2 separate regions of the Homo sapiens genome follow, and region 2 is linked to region 1. Evidence: promoter capture Hi-C in 16 types of primary human blood cells and fetal thymus (Javierre and others, 2016). All regions are on one chromosome and are shown on one strand. The core of a region is centred on a gene start or on the middle of the fragment in contact, and the rest is flanking DNA. Distances in the headings are between cores, read along the strand shown.

What was found. Contacts are between HindIII fragments. The CHiCAGO score rates a contact against its expected background, and 5 or more counts as called.
Region 2: the fragment with the promoter of CSGALNACT2 here is called in contact with the fragment with the promoter of ALOX5 in region 1 in 1 of 17 cell types (M0 macrophages); the score reaches 5.5 in M0 macrophages.

Annotation. Positions count from the first base shown.
Region 1 is chr10:45,372,277-45,375,654 of GRCh38, forward strand. ALOX5 (arachidonate 5-lipoxygenase) reads left to right here and starts at 1,940. Exons shown (of 14, transcript NM_000698.5): 1 at 1,940-2,153. The coding sequence starts at 2,004. RefSeq lists enhancers at 1,708-2,318, 2,319-2,927. The HindIII fragment of the contact is 7,754 bases long and covers 1-3,378 here.
Region 2 is chr10:43,137,094-43,140,325 of GRCh38, forward strand. CSGALNACT2 (chondroitin sulfate N-acetylgalactosaminyltransferase 2) reads left to right here and starts at 1,352. Exons shown (of 8, transcript NM_018590.5): 1 at 1,352-1,474. CSGALNACT2-DT (CSGALNACT2 divergent transcript) reads right to left here and starts at 1,300. Exons shown (of 1, transcript NR_186456.1): 1 at 1-1,300. RefSeq lists silencers at 649-848, 979-1,038, 1,209-1,708, 1,819-1,888. The HindIII fragment of the contact is 5,511 bases long and covers 1-2,024 here.

The DNA.
Region 1 (3,378 bases), core at 690-3,189:
ATTTAAATAAGCTGAAACATATTCTATGGATCAGAAGACTTAATATTGTTAAAGTGACAATATTCCCCAAATTGATCTACAGCTTCAACTCAACCCCTATCAAAATCCTAGCTTGCTTTTTGGCTGAAATTGACAAGCTGATTCTATAATTTATATGGAATCTCAAAGGATCCAGAATAACCAAAACAATATTGAAAAATAAAGAACAGCGTTGGTGGATTAACATTTTCCAATTTCAAAACTTACTATAGCACTGCGGTAATCAAGCAGTGTGGCACTGTATAGCATGTACATTACAGATCAGTGGACTAGAATCAATGTCCAGAAATAAACCGTTATGTTTATAATGAATTACTTTTTAATAAGGTGTCAAGACAACGCAATGGGAAAAGAATAATGAATTCAACAAATGATGCATGGACAACCGGACATGCACATGCAACACAATGAATTTGAATTCTTCTATCGCTCCATGCATAAAAACTAACTCAAAATGGGTCACGGATGTAAATGAAAAGCTAAAACTATAATAATCCTAGAGGAAAACCTAGGAGTAAATCTTTAAGATGTTATTGTAGGCAGTGGTTTCTCAGATAGGACCCCAAAATCACAAGCGACAAAAGAAATTGGACTTAAAGTTAAATACTTTTGTGCTTCAAACATCATCAAGAAAGTGAAAACACAACCCGCAGAAGCAATAAAAATGTCTGTAAGTCATGTATCCGATTAGAGACTTCTATCCAGGATATATAAATAATGCAATTCAATGATAAAAAAGATAAATAGCCCAGTTTTCCAAAGAGTCAAGCATCTGAATATACATCTCTCCAAAAATATACAGATATCCAACAAGCATGTGAAAAGATGTTCAAAGCCATTTGCCAGGTGCACAAACCCAAGACAGTATGAGGAGATGCTACAGGGACTCTGCTGCTTCACAGACATGAAGCGTTGGTGAGAATGTAGGCAGCCGCCTTTGGGGACTTCACATCCCCGCCGCCCCACGCACGGTGAGCTAGTGTTTAAACTTAGCCGAGATCAATACACGCGACTGTGTGCCCGTCAGACCCTGCGCTGCCGGCGGGGCTGGGAGAGGCGGGCGCCAGGAGTGGGCGGGAACCTGGGGGTCAGGCCCCAGCCGCGGGAAGCCGCCCAGGAGCGCGCGAAACCTTCTCCACACCCTTCCAGGCATTTGCCCGCCGCGATTCAGAGAGCCGACCCGTGACCCCTGGCCTCCCCTAGACAGCCCCGCATGTCCAGATGTGCCGTCCCGCCTGCCTCCCGCGACCACTGGCCATCTCTGGGCCTGGGCGCGGTCTCGGCGCCCGCCTGCCCCCGCCAGGAGCCGCAGGTCCAGCCAGTGAAGAAGCCCGCGCTGAAGGAGCCTCTGTGCTCCAGAATCCATCCTCAGTATCAGCGCTGGGGTGGCCTCCTCCAGGAAGCCCTTCTGATTCTCTCATGGGTCGCTCTTCCTCTGCAGACTCCCGGAGCACCCCTGCTCCAAGTACCGCAAGTGGCACTGAGAACTTGGGGAGAGCAGAGGCTGTGCCTAGATTTGTAGGGAGTCCCCGCAGCTCCACCCCAGGGCCTACAGGAGCCTGGCCTTGGGCGAAGCCGAGGCAGGCAGGCAGGGCAAAGGGTGGAAGCAATTCAGGAGAGAACGAGTGAACGAATGGATGAGGGGTGGCAGCCGAGGTTGCCCCAGTCCCCTGGCTGCAGGAACAGACACCTCGCTGAGGAGAGACCCAGGAGCGAGGCCCCTGCCCCGCCCGAGGCGAGGTCCCGCCCAGTCGGCGCCGCGTGAAGAGTGGGAGAGAAGTACTGCGGGGGCGGGGGCGGGGGCGGGGGCGGGGGCGGGGGCAGCCGGGAGCCTGGAGCCAGACCGGGGCGGGGCCGGGACCGGGGCCAGGGACCAGTGGTGGGAGGAGGCTGCGGCGCTAGATGCGGACACCTGGACCGCCGCGCCGAGGCTCCCGGCGCTCGCTGCTCCCGCGGCCCGCGCCATGCCCTCCTACACGGTCACCGTGGCCACTGGCAGCCAGTGGTTCGCCGGCACTGACGACTACATCTACCTCAGCCTCGTGGGCTCGGCGGGCTGCAGCGAGAAGCACCTGCTGGACAAGCCCTTCTACAACGACTTCGAGCGTGGCGCGGTGAGCGCGGGCGGGGCACGGGTGGAGCGCGGGCTGAGGTGCGTCCGGGACCCGGTTTGGACGGCAGAGGCCTGGGCGGGGGCGCCGAGGGCCCGTCGGGGCGGCCCGGACAGGACTGGGGGTGTCCAGGACCCTGTCAGGGAGGGCAGAACTGCGGTGGGGCGTGCCCTGGGCTCCCAGTGGCCGGTGGGTACCCTGGTGGGCAAGCGTCCAGGACCCCTCGCGGCGGCCGCGACCCCTGTCGGAAACGGAGACTTCCCGCGTGCCGCCTGCAAGGCGTCTTCCCTGGGAGGAGAAGGCCCAAGGTTTCCCCTCCACTTCAAGATCTGGGCTCCGAGGCTCCGGAGCCCCCTTCACTGGGCCGCGTTTCTTGTGCCACCTCTTCCTTAGGCTCCTTCTGCAGGTCGCACAGGGAGGGAGAGGCAGATGAGTCATGCTCACAGAACTCTGAGGGCACCTCGGAGCAGCCAGCTGTGAGCCGTGGGGAAGGGTGCACGTCAGCGGGTCCAGAGGCCTGAGTTCTGTCCAGACATGACCACCAGCTCACTCTACCGTCTGTCTGGGCCTCAGTTTCCCCAGCTGAAAATGGAGGGTTGGCTTCAGTCTGGTCCATGAGTCATGGGTGAGCCCAGGCCCATCTGGTGGCTCAGACGGCACCTGGGCAGCTTACATTCTCAGGACAGTCCCCAGAGGAAATTAAAGGGAAGGAACAGAACCCAGGCCAGGAGAGGCTTTTCCTAAATGGAGGGGCTGCACTCCCTCCCAGCAGAATGTACACCAGGGAACACTTCCACGCTAGGTGTGAGGACGCGAGGGAGCCCTCAGCATTTGGAAGCTAGTTCCTAATGCTGATCTGGACCTGAATTCCAGCCCCACGACTCTTTTCCATGAGCATGGGCAGGTCGCAGTTCTCACTGAGCCTTTAATGAAGTGCCTAATCCAGTACCTGGCACAGAGGAAGCGCTCCGTAAATGACTGGTAATAGTCCCAGACATACTGCAGGTGCGCAGGGAATATCAGTTCCCTTCCACCCCACCCCAGCTCCTAACTGGACCAAAAAGATTTAGACTTTACCAAGCTGCCTTCTCACCATTTAGTTTATTATTTGATCAAACCTTGTGAAATTGCTCATAATGGACAAATACAACCGGCAAGTTCATGTTTCAACTGATTACTCTTGGATAAAATTTGTGTTTTAGGTGTGCAGAGCCTAAAGTAAGTAAAA
Region 2 (3,232 bases), core at 102-2,601, 2.2 Mb before region 1:
AATTTAAATCCATTGATGGGAGAACCTCAGTTAGTTTCAAAACAACAATTCTTGCCAGGCGGGGTGACTCACGCCTGTAATGCCAGCACTTTGGGAGGCCGAAGCTGGAAGATCGCTTGAGCCCAGGAGTTCAAGGCCAGCCTAGGCAACAGAGGGAGGCCCCATCTCTACCAAAAAAAATATTAACAATTAGCCGGGCATGGTGGCATGCACCTGTGGTCCCAGCTACTCGGGAGGCTGAGGCGAGAGGATCGCTGGAGTCGGAGGTGGGGAGGCTGCAGTGAACCGTGATCGCTCCACTGCACTCCAGCCTGGGCGACAGAGCGGGACCCTGTCTCAAAAAATAGATGAATAAATAAATAAAAACAATTATAATGGAAGTTTGGATAGGAATTTAAAACATGTGGCAACTAACCCTGACCCTGCGGCTTCAGTCTCCCCGCCGCTAGCTGAGGGCCGTGGCCGCTGCACAGAGGCTTGTGAGGATTCGGGGGTTCAGGCAGCGCCCGCCGCGCATCTGCCAGACGTGCGGCCACAGGGTAGGAGCAGTAAGAAGGATCCAGGGAAAAAAGTCCACGAATGAGAAAGGAAACCCAGCGTTTGTAGGGCTAGGAGAACAAAGAAAGAAAATGCTGGCGGCGGAGGGCGAGGCTCTGCGGTGCGTGGCAGATGGGAATTTGCTCGGTGGCGGCTCCTCTTTCTGGAGAGCTTCCCAGCGTCCCCTCCCCCGCCAGCCCGCGGTGACGCGCCCGGCACCCACCACAGCCGGCTCTCGGCGCCGTCGCGCCTTCGCTCGCCCGCTTAGGCCGTGCTCGCGGTGGCGTGGGAGACAGAGAGCCCAGGGAGGACCCTGGAACATGCAGTGGTATGGAAGACGCCTAAGAAAGGGCTTCTCTTTCCACTCACGAAAATCAGTGTGTGAGCTCGAAGCCATTTCCCAGCGTGTCCGCCTCAACTCCCTCATTCAACAGATGAGGAATTCCTCCAGGGAAATGCAGTGATGCGCTCACGGCTGCCGGCGGCCCAGCGCCAAGGGGCGCTCCACAGCCCCGCGGCCCGAAGCCCTCGACTCGGCTGCCACGCAGGCCCCGCGGCCCCGCTCGGACTCCCAGGATCGGCTTCCGAGCGGGACAGCGCTGCAGTCCACGAGTCCGGGCAGGGGCGCCTCCAGGCCGGAGCGGTTTCCTGCCTCGGGCACTCTGCTGTCTCCACAAACGGTTTTTGGAGGCACACACACGGATACTTTAAACACGTCGGTGATGAATCGGTACCCAGCTGCCAGTGGCGGAGCTTCCTGGGCGGGGCCGCGGGCGCGCGGCGGCTTCATTTCCTCGCGCGCGCCGGAAGTGGCCTCTCAGGCGCGGCGGCGCGCCCGGGGGTGGGTGGCTGAGGCGGCGGCGGGCCCAAGGCGTGAGGCGCCGCCCGGGTGTCCCCGCGGCGCAGGAGGCGGTGGAGCGCAGAGCGGGCGAGCGCGGTGAGTACCTGGCCCGGCCTCGCCCGCCGGTCCGCGACTCCCGCCGGCTCCGGCCCGGGCGGTGCGGGCGCCGGGGCTGCGGGCTCCTGTGTGGTCGGGTGGGGTCGCCTAGCGGACCGGTCCTGCGGGGGGCCCTGTCTCTCAGGGATGAGCCTGCCGGAGTCGGCACCGGTTTTAGGGAAAGCGCGGCCAGAGACGATTGGTTCGCTTGTCAGTGTTGGGTTTTGTTTTGTTTCGTTTTGTTTTTACCTATTCATCACCATCTCTGCTCCTCTCAGTGGATAAACTTTTTAATCAGTGGTGACCTCGTCATCGCGTTAAAATAGTTCTGCCCTCAGCCCCTCTTTATCTGTAGATGGCAGAGCGAGCGCCGGTAAAGATGCTCTGTCGTGGAGGGCTCAGTGGGGCGGAGGAGATGGGGAGCCTCTGGCGTTGTCGGAGAATGCACCTTAAAAATGACTCTACCCTTGAGCAACGCAGGAAGCACGACAGTGATACTTCTGTTTGTGATGATGGTATTGGCGGTATGATAGTTTGATTATACATCTGAAGCTTCTCTTCCTGAGTCCTTGGCTTGTTAAACTTGGAGGTATTTTCTAGCGTGCTTTTGAGATAGATATGGGATGTCGTGACGTTTCACCGTCATTCAAGGCTCGCGGGAGCAGGGCCTTCATGTCTGGTAATTAATGTTGTTTTTTGAATGTTGTATTAAAATAGTAGCTTCGATCTTGGAAGTAAGAAGCCAAGTATTTTAGGACTGAGTGTTAGCGTTCATTTTGTATTATTGTTCTTGTACCATTTGTTTAAAGTTGTCATGTAACTAAAAGAATGAAAAAAGATGGATTTCCAGTATTTGTGGCTCAGAGGATTTTGGCCTAAATAAACACAGTTCCAACCAGTTTAGAAGCTGCATTTTTCTCTTTGTTTTTGTCGAGGCATAAAATACATATGAAATCAATAAGAGCACGAATCTTAATTGTACAGCTCAATGAATTTTTACATACTTATTACCCTGTGGAACCACCAGATATATCAAATTATAACCATAGAACATTTCCATCATCCTATTTTCCTGTGCTTCTTCCAAGTCAGTTATATCCTTGTTTTCCCATCTGTATTCTAACTTCTCTTATCTGCTTTTAGTTTTCTCTGTTTTGAGCTTCATGTTAATGGAATCACGTAGTATTCTCAGCATATTGTTTGTGGGACACACCCATGCTATTTCATGGTATTGTATTATTACTGTGTAATAGTCTATTGAATAATATGTGACTACTCTTCAGTTGATGGACATTTATGTTCCCAATTTTTGTATATGATGTGTTTTGGATATTAAGAATACTGTGGGCCTGGCGTGGTGGCTCAGGCCTTTTATCCCAGCGCTTGGGGAGGCCGAGGCAGGTGGATCACTTGGTCAGGAGTTCGAGACCAGCCTGGCAAACATGGTGAAACCGCATCTCTACTAAAAATACAAAAATTAGCCAGGCGTGGTGGCGGGCGCCTGTAAGCCCAGCTACTTGGGAGGCTGAGGCGGGAGGTGGAGGTTGCAGTGAGCCGAGATCGTGCCACTGCACTCCAGCCTGGACGACAGAGCCTGACTCGGTCTCAAAAAGAAAAGAAAAAAAAAAGAGTACTGTGGACATTCTTGTAAATTAAATGTCTTGGTGAGCATCTGTATGCATTTCTGTCAGCTATAGAATGACTGAGTCATGGCATAAGCAGAAAATTACCAACATGGAGTCATTACCAACCATACCA